3 separate regions of the Homo sapiens genome follow, and all the other regions are linked to region 1. Evidence: promoter capture Hi-C in 16 types of primary human blood cells and fetal thymus (Javierre and others, 2016). All regions are on one chromosome and are shown on one strand. The core of a region is centred on a gene start or on the middle of the fragment in contact, and the rest is flanking DNA. Distances in the headings are between cores, read along the strand shown. Region 1 holds the start of POU6F2-AS1 (POU6F2 antisense RNA 1). Region 2 overlaps VPS41 (VPS41 subunit of HOPS complex). Region 3 overlaps VPS41 (VPS41 subunit of HOPS complex).

Region 1 (4,872 bases), core at 924-3,423:
AAAGCAGTTGAAATATATCCATTTCTGACCCCAAAACACAAAAGCTTAGAAGCCCACTTTTAAGTAGAGACTTTGTTTTGTATTCAGAATAATTGTTTATCCTTTATGCAATACCTGAATTTGCAGCAAACTGCATGGGACTATATCTGAACAACACACTAGTGTCCTAAATGTAGGAAATTCTCAATCTATGCTATTTGGTATCCAGAGAATAATTCTATAATTTCCTATATGAATTTTTGATCAACATAGATGTTAGGGAAATGCCTTGCAATTAATAAAAAATATTTTCTTTTCATTAAATATAAATAATTGTCTATCTTTTTCAGAGAGCATTCTGTATGTAGATACTTAAATTGTTCACCCAAAATTCATGGACCAAATCCATAGTCAACATTAAGATCCAACTGAACATAATTTAATCATTTGTTGAGGATGAAGAAGTTTATTTTGAGATATTCCTGAAACTCAAGAAATTCATTATGATTTCAACTTGTATTGCATGAAAGAAATGCAAACATGGCAATTGACAGATGACCTAAAAATATTGTACCAATGGGCAGTGTCTGTACCGGCAGTTCGGAGACAGTATTTCCCAAGCAGTCTTCTCACTTCAGAAGTTAAAAAAAAAAAGAACACATTATGAACTCTTCTCACTTTAGGTAGTCTACAAACAAGGAGAGTTACTTCTGGATGCATAGTTACCCCACCTATCCTTTAAAGACATACTCCAAAAATCAAAATCAAGACCAACCTGAATTTTAAATCCCATGGTGGTAATCTGGGATAAGACAGGGTTTCTCTTTAGGCTGATGAGTGAGAATTTTTTTCTCCTTAAAAAGAAAATCATTATTGTCTTTTAGGAGAGAGATAAAGGCAAAAGACATAAAGTAATCAACTTAAAATGGATTCTCATTTTTTTTAAAAAATGTGCTGGGTCAGCAGAATTACTGAAGAACAGTTGTGTGAAATTTAGTTATAAATGAATAAAGAAACCGATAAGATAAAGATACCACATTAATGAAAAAATAGTTATTAAATTCCTGTCCTTTTTGATGTTTTCTCTGATAATTAATATTTCCTTCTTCATAAGATAGTATAATCTCTAGGCAAATTTCCAAAGAAATTAAGAAATAAAATATGATTTGAAGGGAAGAAGGAAAAGAGAGAGAGAGAAGAGAGACTGAGACAAAAAATGAAGAAAGGAAAGTTTTAAAAGTGGCATTTTTAGAAGAGCTTCCAAGACTTGAATTAGGTATGGCATTAATTTTTTTCCACCTAGTCTTAGTCGTGGCAGGTTTCTGAAAAAATGCAGGAATTTCATGGATGTGGGAACTGGTGATGGAAAATGCATTATTTCCAACACAACAATTGTTGTACTTGAGAGAAACTATATGGGGAAAAAAATAACACCCTAGAATAAATACAAATGAAATTCATGTATCAAAACCAATACTGTGAAAATAGTTTAAATGTTTCTTGAATTTATATCTAGTCATTAACCTAAATGCAGATTTTAGTTGAAGCCACACTTCTGCCTCATGGTCAGAAGGCCTGAAAACCTGTGGCGTGGAAAATTGGCAGGAAGGAGAATATTGAATTGGTCTCCATGGAAAAACAGATTTTGGCAGCCATAACCTCCTCCCCGGCAGGTCTCTCTCCCACTCTCTCTTTCTTCCTCCCTGTTTCACTCTTGTCCCAGGAAAGAGGCTGAGGAAAGACCATGTATCAGCTACAACAGCAAGCAGTTGTCAATCTGACCATTCATCGAACAACCTTTCTCATTGGCATTGAATCCTGTGGTTTAGGTTAAAGCCCCAAAATTGTCGCAGCCCTAGACTCACCCTCTGAGAGCACGGAGGCCATAAATTCCATTTCTACTGGCTTTGGTTTCCTTCTCCCCTCAAACAAGAAAGTGGGGTGGAACACCTGCCTCGCTCGATGTCCCTGAAAGAAACTGCAATTCACAAATGGAAATGATAAATTCATTCTTAGAAATCCTAAAAATCTATTCCTCTCTTTCCCCGATCCCCATCCTGTTTACTCTCCTATTCTGTCTGGTTACCTCAGGGAAAGCAGATATTTCCTGAGTTTTATTTAGTCTAGAGGGCTTCTGCGAAATCATTTCTCCACCCCAGAAGGTCCTAACAGCCCACCTCACCCCTGAAGTTCAGGCTCGTTCCCTCCTGGGCTAGCCCTAAACCCAGACTCCACCAAGCTCCCCAACATTTTCCTTCCAGCCTCGTTTCCATCATCCCCCTACCCCAGAGCTTCCGGGGGAATGTTCGCCACGCCCCTCCGGTGGGTTCCAGGCCCTTTGCATGAGCGAATTGAGGCGAGAACTACCTCCCCAGAGTCAATGTTGTGTCCGTGTGCTGTGCCTGTGCCTCTCGGTGGTTTTCACGGTGATCTTTTCTCTCTTTGCAGCTGGTTAATAATCCACTAGCAAGTCAGGCTGCAGCGGCTGCAGCAGCCATGAGCTCCATAGCAAGCTCACAGGCCTTTGGCAATGCCCTCTCCAGTCTTCAGGGGGTCACAGGTCAACTAGTTACTAATGCACAAGGACAGGTGAGTGGGAGATGGGAACAAGAGTGCATTTTTATGGCAGATTGAACTCGGAAAGGAATTGAATTTCTTTTGCATGACAGTGATATGTAACCGCATCTATTCGAGGCAAATAAATAATGTTTACTAGCAATGTCAAGAATAGGAGAAGGGTTGGGAGGTGTTTCTATGTTTTAGAAGCAAGATTTTTTTCCTACCTCTAGATTGCCAAAGTTTTATTTTGTTTTTATCTCTGTACTATGACTCATGTTATGACCTTATATGAAGAAGTTACTTTGCATTACAGGGGGCATTCTTTCAAAAAGAAAAAAGTTACATCTTAAAAATAAAATGTCAGTTTTGCTTTTTTTTACTTTTCACTTAAGGAAAAACTTGGATAATGAGGGAAACTGATCAGTTTCCTTCCATAATTGCTGTGAGAGAGATATCAAAATTAGTCTTAACAAAGCCAATTTTTGAATGTATGGGAAGGTGATGAAGAAGTCTTGTAAAAGCAACAAAGAAAAGGGGTGAGTTAGAATGAAGCCAATTGCAAGTCAGCCCCATGGTCCCTGGCCTCCTGCCAATTCCTACGGAAGCCAGGCAACCTCTGGCATGCTTGTTGATTTACTTCAGTATGTCAGGGGTAGTAAACTTTCCTCATGTCATGAGAGAGGGTCTGTCCCCTCAACGCTGCTAATGTGCCACATAATGTTCATACTAGATCCTGGAAGAGCTTCAGACAACCCAATAAACCCAAAAGCTGCATAAAAAGCAAACGAGATGAAGCTGATGATGTCGGGGTACCCTCCATCTGAAGGCCTGTCTCAGAGCCCAGTGGTTAGGACACTTGGTTCTCCAGTGTGACTGATCATGAAATCCAAGGGAGAAGGAGCTAGCATTCTCACAAAGACTTTTCCCCCCAGCCTTATCTATTTGCCCAGCAGTGTGTTTGCATACTCCCTGCTTGGCCTGTTCTGTGGAGAGCAGGCATTTTGATGTCTTGAACCCTGTTTTTATTTTACATAAAGAGTAAACAAAGATGCATTATAAGCTAAATCGTCTCTGTCTACATTCCAGGGAAAAAAAGCTGACCTTGTTTTATTTCCTGGGCGGGTGTGGTATTGTCCCGTCAGAACCCCGAGGGCTGAACGATGGAGCTTGTCAAAGAGAGGCCCCATGTAATGAATCATCTTATCACAGGTGCACACCGCACATATTAAAGGAGGGTTGTATGAACACTGTGCCCTCTACAGTAACCTTTCAATGTCTGCTTTAACCCTTGTTCCAATCCCTTTTCATCAAAGGATCATTTTATGCAGCCGGCTCTAAATGGAGGCTCTCAAAAGCCTATTAAGATTTCTGGAGGGACGGGGTATTGGTGTAGAGGAAAAGTTGGTTTTAATGTCTGTAACTCATACTCACATCAGGTCGCTGCTTCGTAGAGCTGTGCCCAGAAATAGGACACCCTGCCTCACTCCTGCCAGGGAGCTGGCCCTTGAGATGTAAATTTTAGGAGTTCAAGATAGAAACCATATCCACCGACAGATATTTCCTTCTGATTTTTTTGTTCCTACATCTAAGTAAAATACACTGATATGCTCCATCACTTGAATACTTGTGATGCAGAAAATCCATTATTATTTAGAAGGAATTATTAGGAGTTTATTCTTCTGATGATTTAAGGGCTGATTACTTTGCCAATTAGATATTCTCAGGAGCTAGAGTTACTACACTTGCTTTTTTTGGCCTTTGCCAAACCCCAGGGATAGCTTTCCCAGCCCATAAGTACCCATTAGAAAATGATCTTCCAAGTAGAAGATTGATTGGTACTGTGCATACATTGAATAAGAGTTGACTTTAAAATATCTTATTTTAGAAACTGTGGTATGATCGTTTATTTGATGTGGCATACAAACCTCTTAAAGTGGAAAAAAAATTACATTCACAGAGAAATCAATAATGCCTACTCATGAAATCTTAAGTTTTAACACATGTGCCCAATGGGGTCATGTCTTCCACCTAGTGCAGAAACAGTTCAAGAGTTAAAATACTCAAACTTCCAGTGGATAATTGGCCATATTCATGTAGTGATATGGTTGGTTTTGTTTGTTTGTTTTTTGTTTTTTTGATGTTCAGAATATAAACCCGGTTATCTTCCCAGGAAATGGTGCATGTCCTACAACTGTTGGCACAGAGATACTTGTGTGACCCTATGAAGTGAGGTGAACAGCCTGTGGTCAAATTACACCAAAAGAGATAGGCAAAAATTTTGTGTTTTTTGTTTGTGTGTGTGCATATTCCTTTGGCTTATGTTAATGTGGCACA
Region 2 (4,872 bases), core at 904-3,403, 610 kb before region 1:
CACAATGCCAAATGGACAACTGTTTTAATGTGCTGATATAAGTACATGAGGAACAGTCTTTCAAATGGTTTGAAGTATAATAAAAAAGCAAATGTATCGGCAATATTAGTGAACACTTTTTTGGGCAGTTACTGGCAGTGCTCCTGAGTTAAGGCCTTTGTGAAATAGATATCATTATTTTCTTAAGATTATGGTGCAGTGGGGGAGACACAAAAATAAGGCACTTTACTGAAGTGTGACAGGGAAGTACAGAGCAGGGGCATCTCCTGCTAGGGCAGGAAGACTTCCTGGAAGAAGTGACATGTAAGTTGAAGCAGGAGAGACAACACAGGAGAACACGGTGATATGACAGCATAGGGCCTTCAACTGGAAGCTCAATCGGACAGAAATGAAGGGCATGGGGGAAGAAGGGGACAGAGTTGAGGCTGGAGAGTAACGGAGAGGCAGATCACAAAGAACCTTGGAAGTCATGTTTATGATCAGTTATCCTATGGGCAAGGAGGGGACTGACCTCATCTGACCTGCACTTAGATTATTCTAGCTATACTGTTTAGGATAGGTTTAGGGGGGGTAAAACCAGCACCAAAAAGACTTGACAGGAAGATGAAGTGCAGAGATTTGAGAGACATTGACAGAACTTGAGGGCTGACAGTCTTCCAACACTCAGACACCCCTGAAAGACAATGTTATTATGTTTAATCCAGAGATGAGGACACTGAGGCTCTGTGAGTGATGCCAGACTGCCTGGCCAGAGCTGGAATTCACACCAAGGCCTGACTGGTATCTCGCTGGTCATGCCACAGCTTGAGAACAAGGATGCATTGCACTACTGGTAGCTGGGCATGGCTCTACTGCACTCCTCAGCTCTGTGGTCTGGGCTCACCCAGCACCTGTCTCATAGGTAGGAAGTGGCAGGTAAAGGTGGGTGAATAGGTAAGTGCTACCTTAAGCTCATGTCTTGCATAAGCACAAATCAATGACTGTAAGAGCCCTTTACCACTGATAGGTGGGTTCTTGCCCATGAACTCTAATCTGCTTCCTCCACTTCTCCACATGGGTGGATAACAGGCATCTCTCAAGTAGACACACCTAAAACCAACTCTTGCCTTTTTCACTCTAAACATGCTTTATCAACAGTCTTTCCCATTTCAGCAAAAGGTAGTTTCACCTTCCAGTATGTTAGGTGACTGTGATCTTACACCCCACATCCAACTGTCAACAAATACTGCAGAGTCTACCATCAAAATATATCCAGGATCTGGTCATTTCTCACCAGCTGCATTACACTGACCTGAGACAACATTATTTTTTATGGAGATGACTGCGGTAGCCTAATTGGTCTCCCCTCTTGACTGCCCCTTTGCCGTTTAGCTCCACACAGCAACCAGAGATCCTTCCAAAATACAAGTTAGATCACTTAACTGACTCCACAACAGCTCAAAGCCCTGTGCTGGCTTCCTACCTCAGTCAAATTAAAAGCCAAAGACTTCTCAAGGGCCCCTGGGCTCCAACATCACCTGCTCCTCCACCACACCCTCCCCGACCCCCACTTACATCCCTCTCCTCCACATCTGCTCCACTCACTCTGACACAAACAGCTTCCTTGCTGTTCCTCAAAAGCACACCAATCACACTCCTGCTTCAAGAATTTTTGCACTCCTGCTCCTTCTGCTAACACCTCCTACCCCAGGCCCCCATAGAGCTGTATAACTTTTCTCTCCAGATCTCTGACCAAACAACATATTAGTTATTGGACAGGCCATCCCTGGACCACCCTATATTAAATGGTACCTACCCCAATCCCTTTTCCTATTATCCTGTTAAAATGTTCTCCTTTTTATTTGCCACCTTCAACATGCTATACTTACTTGTTTTTGTCCACCTTCCTCACTAGAACATAAATTTCCCAAGGGAAGGAACTCATTCATTTGTATATTTGTGTTCTGCAACACTAGAACACTGCCTGGCACACTGCAGGCACCTGGTAAACGTTTGTTGGGCAAATGAATGAATGAAGTAAATGGTAAGGTCCAATTGCACACTTTATTTTACTGTTTCTGGTTGCTTCTCCCCAACAAGATTGCTGTCCCTCTGAAGAAAGACCACGTCCTTATCTCCTCTTCCTTCAACAGAACTCACTAAGAGTCTACACTGAGAAGTGCTCAACATATAGAACTGAGTTTGAAGAAAAGGAACCTCCAATAAAATGAAATATTTGACATAAAAATTGTATAGAAGCTGGATCTTAACTTGGGCATAAAGAAAGGGTATATGTTTCCCATGGCTGCTATAACAGACTGCCACACTTGGTGGTTTAAAACAACAGAGATGTTGTTTTAAACATCTGTTACAGTTCCGCAGGCTACAAGTCTGAAATTGGGTTCACTGGGCTAAAATCAAGGTGTTGGCAAGGCTGTACTTCCTCTGGAGGCTCTAGGGGACAATCTGCTGTCTCCTCCAGCTTTCTGGTGGCTGCCACCATTCACTGACCACCTCACTCCAATTTCTGCCTCCACAGTGGTACTGCCTTCTCCTCCTCTCTTCCATGTTAGCATCTCCCTCTGCCTCCCTCTCATAAAGATAAACGTGATTGCATTTAGGGCCCACCCAGATAATGTAGGTTAATTCCCCATCTCAAGATCCTTAACTTAATCATATCTTTTGCTAAATAAAGTAATATTTACCTTTTTGTCATATAAAGAAACATTTATAGGTTCTAGGAATTAGGGCTTGCTATCCTTGGGGCCATTATTCAGCATACCAGAGAAAGAATTTCTGGGAGTAATGAGTAAACTTGTTACATATTTCTACAGGCTAATTTTCCTTGTCTTTCACCATAAGAAAAGAAAATCAGAACTTTAAAACTAACAAGCAACCTGGTCCATTTAAGGGATTTTTAAAATACTAAGAATATAAATTTATTGGATGAGTAACCACACACGTGGGACAGGGAGCCCAGGGAATCCCTTTTTCCATCCTACGATATAGGCACAGTTTCCTTCCTGTTACCCTAAATATAAATCAGGTTGTGTTCATGTAACACATGAAGAAAAAAGAACCTGAATGATAACAACATGAGGGCTGGGAGGGCCTGAAGTGTAACAATGTTTGTTTTGCTAATAACAATCATTACATTAATAATTTTCCACTTTCCCTTTCCAGAGAAGAGTACATTTTAAATAGCCACGTCCCCTTCATGACATTGCTAGAACTTTATATAATAATGACAGCTAACATTTATTAAGCAATTACATCAGATTCTATGCAAAACTCTTTACATGCATTGGCTCATTTATTTCTCCCCAAAACTTGTGATGTGAGAACAATTAGCACTACCACTTTGCAGATGAGGACAGTAAGGCTCACAGAGGATCCCAAAGGAAAATGGAGAAGCTGGACTTGATCCCAGGTCTGTCTGGCCTCAAAGCCTGAGCTCTTCCATGAGACTACTGCTGGGATACTCTCTCATGCCATTTTTATACTTCCACTAATTTTTAGTTTATTTTGTTCGAATTAAGCTGTCTATTTTTTAAAGGGAAACAACTTTTGGCTCTGAAGTATCTAATATAACAGAAGCACTAGTAGGCATAAAATAAATGTGAATGAGCTTTGGGCCCCCTTTCACAGAACAGCTAAATTTCATTTACCCAGGCGCATAAGGGTCAGATAATTAAACTTCAGAAAATATGCCCAAATCTTATTATTGATGATAAGTCTGGGTCTCTACTCTATCAAATTATTACCAAGCAGCAGGATGATTTAATTTTAACCTTCTCTCTCCACTATCAATAACTCTAATGAAGAAGTGAAGGGTCAAAGCTAAGGGAAAATGAAAAGAATAATAAAGAGAAGAAAACCTGACTAAACAACAAAACTAACCCCATGTTCTGTAAATAGCTAAGGCCAGCTGGGATGTGAGAAATTAAAAGAAGATTGAAAAAGACAGCACCATTCTCAACACGAAAAAGTTCACAAATAGTTTTACATGCCATGGAAAAGAAAGAATACATCTTAAAACTTATGCACAGGAAATAATTTGAGCATTAAATGGTAATCACGTCACAATAACATCCAAGTGAAAAGATTTGGGTCCTAGAAGCCAATCAAGACTCACAGTCCTTTGGACCACCCTCAGTGGATCTATAACAACACGGACTTATTATAAAGACAAGCAAAACCACCTTGACAGAAGTCCCCCAGCCAATAATCAGTGTCACATTGTCCTTCCAGCAGAGGCTGCAGGGATACATGTCTGGGCGAAGACTTATATCATCCCGGGGCACATTGGTGATTCTTTGCTTTGAGATGATGTCAAAAATCTTCACACCCTGGAAAATAATACAGCAGTAAGCATCCTCTACTCAGGAGGAAAGTAACAGAAAACTTATTAACAGCCCCTGCTACATACTACCAATAACCAGCACGGAGAAATATTAGCAGTGTTTACTGAGCATGCAAGGAAAATGCTCCTGCTCCACACAAACCCTGTGGGAACTAAAACCACAAGGAAACCTCCACCCTTCTTTCTGGACAAAGGAGATTTTCTTAGATGGCATGGGTGACTCAAACCCAACAGAAACATGAAATGTACAAACATCAATAGCTGCATTTCCAAACTGACAGACAAGTAACATTTCTAATTTTATCGTTCCACCATGAAAAATGAAGTTTGTTTTTTAGAAAGGCTTTGAGTCTGAAAAGCCACCTATATAAAGAAAACTACATCTGACATTTTAAAGTTCTCAAATGAAAACATCAGGCAAGCAGCTAACTAAAAATGAACCAAGAGACCACAGCTTTGTTTTACCTTCATCGTGACCCAGGAGAAGTAAGAAAAGTCCAGAATAAAAAGGTAGAGTCTAGGCAGATTTC
Region 3 (4,872 bases), core at 1,116-3,615, 600 kb before region 1:
ATTCAGGAAGCAGATTCAAACCAAATACTCCTGTGAAATGACTGTGATTTAGTTTGTACCACGACACCAACTAACAATGACTGCAATTGTGACCCCTTGCTTTATACAGCCTTCTCTTAAAGCAAAAGAGAGAAAGAGAACCTCTGTGTTAATGAATCAGCTGATGTTAAATCCCACAAGAATATCTAATGAACACCTCTGAACTGGCAATGACACTTGCAGTCCTTGCTCAAAATACTTAAGAATAAGCACAGGACTCTCCATATGCAAAAGAAGATATTATCAGCAAGGAGCAAAAGATGGTTATAAGGAAGAGAGATGGTAGTTTTAACATCAGAGTTCAGGGGAAAGCTACAATCAGTATGGAAATATATGAAAAAGTTAGCTGAACTCATTAAAGAAAAAAGTATATTTTTTAACAGGCATTTGATGGATATGAGACAATGGGAATCATAAAGGAAAATGAAGTTGCTATGGACCCAACTCTCCCACCCTGACCGCTGTAGATACCATTCAAATACTCTGGGAGTCCTACATATTGACATCAAAAAAGCAATCAGCAATGAAGAACACCTGTTTTTCCGACTGAAAATGATTTTTATTTAAGCATTATATTTCTATTTTTAGCCTCAGATAGCTTAGTATACATAGGAAAACTCACCGAAAAATACTTTAAACAGTAGAGCTATTTTATTGCTTGGTTTTTCATATCTAAAAAAATGCTTGTGAAGGTTACATTTGTGTTTTACTTCCTGCTAATCAATGGTTTTTAATCAATTTTGGTACATTGATGACAGCATGAAATACATTTCTAGGAATGAGACCACAATTTACAACACAGTACCTAGAATAAATAAAGGTATGTATTTACAATGCCTCAACGTGCAACCGTTAGATTGGTGGCTGCCTGTGGTGTAACTGTGAATTAACTAGGGAGCCTTAATTTTAATTCTTAAAAATGTTCAGACGATTCACTTGAAAACTACAATGGTAAGTAATGTGGGAAGAAGTTTCAGGTAGAAGGCTACAATCAAGCATCTGAAAACTTGCGGAAATACTATCCTAGAGATCCAAACACTGGACAGGAGACAGAGAGGAACTGCTAATGTCAAAACCCTTCTAGCCACCAAAACCCCAGCTCCAATCTGACCCAAAGATGAACAAACACACGAGGAAGCACTCCTACACTTCATGTTTAGGGATGGCAGTGGTAAGAAAAGGCTCACCGGATTATCTAGATTCTAAAAAGATTTGTAGCCAGGGGACTGGGAGCTATTGGCAGATGCTGGCCAAAAGGGCACAGACTTTCAGTTCTAAGATGAATAAATTCGGGGATCTAATGTACGCTATGGTTACTATATTTAATAATGCCATATTAAATACTTAAAATTTACCAATGGATTTTAAGTATTCTCATCCCCAAAGAAATGGTAACTATGTGAGGCAACTGATAATGTTAATTAGCTTGAACGTGGCAATCACTTCACAATAAATACTAAATACATTTGGTATATATCAAATCATCATTGTATAACTTAAATATGTATAATTTGGCTGGGCATGGTGGCTGACGCCTGTAATCCTAGCACTTTGGGAGGCCGAGGCAGGCGGATCACGAGGTCAGGAGTTTGAGACCAGCCTGGCCAACATAGTGAAACCCCGTCTCTACTAAAAATACAAAAATATATATATATGTATATTTTATATATATATATAATATAAAATTTTAATTTGTCAATTATACCTCAATAAAGCTAGAAAAAAATAAAAATGTTGATAACATGGGCAAAAGAAATAAAATTTAAAAACAATCTTAATAATAATTTTTTAAATATTTACAGTTTTATAAAAAGCTTCCCATATTGAATCCTCCCTCAAAAAGGATTCAAAATCCAATTTATTATTTGCAGACCACTGCTGGAAGCTTATAGAAGCTGGCTGACACTACCATCTCTGTCCTTCAGGTAAAATTTGCCATTTCAAATTTTCCTCATTTCATTCACTCCAGTCCTTTCCTTGTTTGCTGACTGACATTTTCCAGCTTACAAAGCAACTTGCCCCTGCGGCCAGGTCCCCTCATTCTATCCCACCGTAACGCCAAACAGCTGACTATCTGATTTCTAAAAATGAACTCCACTGCAAACAGCATCGCGACAATTTAATGATTTGTCAAAGTAGTAGAACCAGTTATTATAAAGTGTATTTCAGTGTTCAAAAGTAAAGGTCCTATGAAGCTAAAGCTTACCTGCTGACAGGGAAAGCTGGACAATTAAAAAAAAAAATCCAGACAACATTCACTTGACAGATTTATTTCTAAAATAGAAACTTCATTTGCCATGCTCCTGTATTAAAATTCTTGCTACAAAAGAAGGTTACACTTACAAAAAAAATTCATTGGTTCACGTGTTTGAAAGCTCTCTCCAATGGCACTTTTAAGAGATGTGCTTTCTCTTTTTTTTTTTTCAAGATGGAAACAAAACAGAATATGGAATAAGCTTTTTATGCTCATGTGTCAAGCACTGGAGTCCATAAATCCAGCTATGGCATTCAACTACTAAGAAGATACCTTGAAAACCTAAAATAAAAGTTTATGCCAGACAGAACTATAGCCTCCTAGTCCTAGTCCCTGGTGGATAAAGAGCTATCTCTGAACACCTAAGAAGCCAGAACTTTGAAAAGGAAATAGCTGTCAAACTACAGTTTCAGGGTTTCTTCTGTTACATTGCTATGTTCTGCAATGTATGTTGCATACTTTGAAAAGTATGTTCTAATTACTTTAATAATTTTTATAGGAATCAAAAATTGTAATAAGATTAAAGAACTATTAAATATTAATAGACATCTCTCTCAAATTTTCTTATGACTTCACGAATATCTCATAGTGGTCCTCTATTTTTCTACTTAGTTCCTCTAGTCTCTGTGCCACTTTAACCCATTGTTTGTAGAAGGTGGCATATAATTCCAACGATTTATTTGGCTGTCAGTCTAGAGATCACTGTTCTTAAGGGTTAAGAATGTCTTTATTCCACATTACACCTTCATTTGGCTAGTCTTTGCTCCAATTTTTTGAAGATTAAATTATTTCTTAAAGGCAGAAAGTCATAACCTCTCAGTTATCTGACATATGTCTTTATTCTCTTTTCCCCCTATGTGATCTGCCACCTGTTCTCAACAGAGGAGGGATCTTGATATCTATAACATGATTATTGCAAGGTTATAACCATTTGCTAAATGTTGGGCTTTTCAAAATTGTTCTGCCTAGTTTCTGCTGCTAGTTTAAAATTGCAGCTGAAAGGATTGAAGTAGCTACTGAGCCAATGTAGTTATCTCATTTTTCAAAGATATAAACCTCTATAACTCAGTTACAAAAAGAGCAGCTCCTCCTAAAAATTTGCGAACACTTTCAAAATGAAAGTGATCATTTCACAAGTCCTCCTTTCTTAATGTAACCTTCTAAATGCCTTTAGTTTTTAACATCAGATATATTTCTTAATGAAATTAGAAAAATACATCCTAAAATACCTCAACTAAATAAATCTATTTCAAAACAAACAAAACACGCTAATGTCAAAAACATGAAGCATAAATAATCTTTACAAGTACATACCACACAACATGTAGAAAAAGGAAATTCTCTGGAGATTTCTGCAAACCACACCAAGCTGATACACATTTTGAAAATCTCCATTTAACCATATGCAAACAGATCATTATAGTTTATCAAGAAAATGGTACTTTTTAGTACTTAGTAAATACATATTTACATGATAAAATTTAATGGATCCAAATAAATCAAAGTTTGTATGTTACAAGTCATTAAATTGCGGACACAGTTACATGTTTCTAAAGCCTTTAACATAAGTAAAATAAATTATAATGGCTTTTTTAAATAAATTATTCTAAATCACAAACTATTATCACACTTTTAAAAGACTTGTTTTGTCATACACACACACACACACACACACACCCCTCCATATATACAGATAGATAGATATATCTCATTCATATATATATATATCTTCTGTAGTAAGTGGAAATAATTTGCTTGTATTACCCTAGGGTGCTTTGATTGTACTGGGAATAAAAACAGGTTTTCCTTAAAGAATGATGATATATAATGGCTTTTTAAAGGGAAAGAACCCCAAACCAAAGTTTTAAGAGTAGACAGTCTTTGACTTATGATTATTTGACTTAATGATTTTTCAACTTTATGATGGTACCTATACAATGATTAAATTTTTCACTTTCAGTCTTCAATAAATTACATTATATATTCAATGCTTTATTATAAAATAGGCTTTGTGTTAAATGATTTTGCCTAACTGTAGTGTTCTGACTACAATTAAGGTAGGCTAGGCTAAGATGTGATGTTCAGTAGGTTAAGTATATCAAATGCATTTTTGACTTAACAATATTTTTAACTTACAATAGGCTTATCAGGACAACCTCAACTGTAAATTGAGGAGCATTTGTAGTTCATCTGCCATCCCATAACTAATTACAGAAAAATTAGTGGCTTTGAAACCTAAAAGGGGTACTGGCATAAAGATAGCTATATAGATTGGTAGAATTCAGAATCCAGAAATAAACCCTAACATTTATGGTTAACCAATTTTCCACAAAGGGCCCACACAATGGGAAAAGAATAGTCTTTGCAACAGTGATGCTGGGCCAACTGGATATTCACATGCAAAAGAATAAATTTGGACTCCTGTCTTACATCATACATAATGAACTCAAAATATATTGTACACCTAATTTAAGAGTAAAAAATACAAAAGTCTTAAAAGAAACAAGCATTAATCTTCATGACCTTGGAAGAGGCAACAGGCAGTGATCTCTTAGATACAACACCAATAGCACAAGTAT

Evidence for each region. Contacts are between HindIII fragments. The CHiCAGO score rates a contact against its expected background, and 5 or more counts as called.
Region 2: a fragment that was not itself captured here is called in contact with the fragment with the promoter of POU6F2-AS1 in region 1 in 1 of 17 cell types (naive B cells); the score reaches 5.8 in naive B cells.
Region 3: a contact is called between a fragment that was not itself captured here and the fragment with the promoter of POU6F2-AS1 in region 1, in 1 of 17 cell types (megakaryocytes). The highest score is 5.7, in megakaryocytes.

Annotation. Positions count from the first base shown.
Region 1 is chr7:39,404,173-39,409,044 of GRCh38, forward strand. POU6F2-AS1 (POU6F2 antisense RNA 1) reads right to left here and starts at 2,174. Exons shown (of 4, transcript NR_046711.1): 1 at 2,162-2,174; 2 at 1,845-1,947; 3 at 755-833; 4 at 426-611. It overlaps POU6F2 (POU class 6 homeobox 2), which reads left to right. Exons shown (of 10, transcript NM_001370959.1): 6 at 2,428-2,568. The HindIII fragment of the contact is 9,360 bases long and covers 43-4,872 here.
Region 2 is chr7:38,791,284-38,796,155 of GRCh38, forward strand. VPS41 (VPS41 subunit of HOPS complex) reads right to left here. Exons shown (of 29, transcript NM_014396.4): 9 at 4,182-4,328. Among named protein-coding and RNA genes, the nearest start is that of VPS41, 120 kb to the right of the region's middle. The HindIII fragment of the contact is 7,889 bases long and covers 1-4,872 here.
Region 3 is chr7:38,807,651-38,812,522 of GRCh38, forward strand. The region is part of intron 7 of VPS41 (VPS41 subunit of HOPS complex); the gene reads right to left. Among named protein-coding and RNA genes, the nearest start is that of VPS41, 99 kb to the right of the region's middle. The HindIII fragment of the contact is 255 bases long and covers 2,239-2,493 here.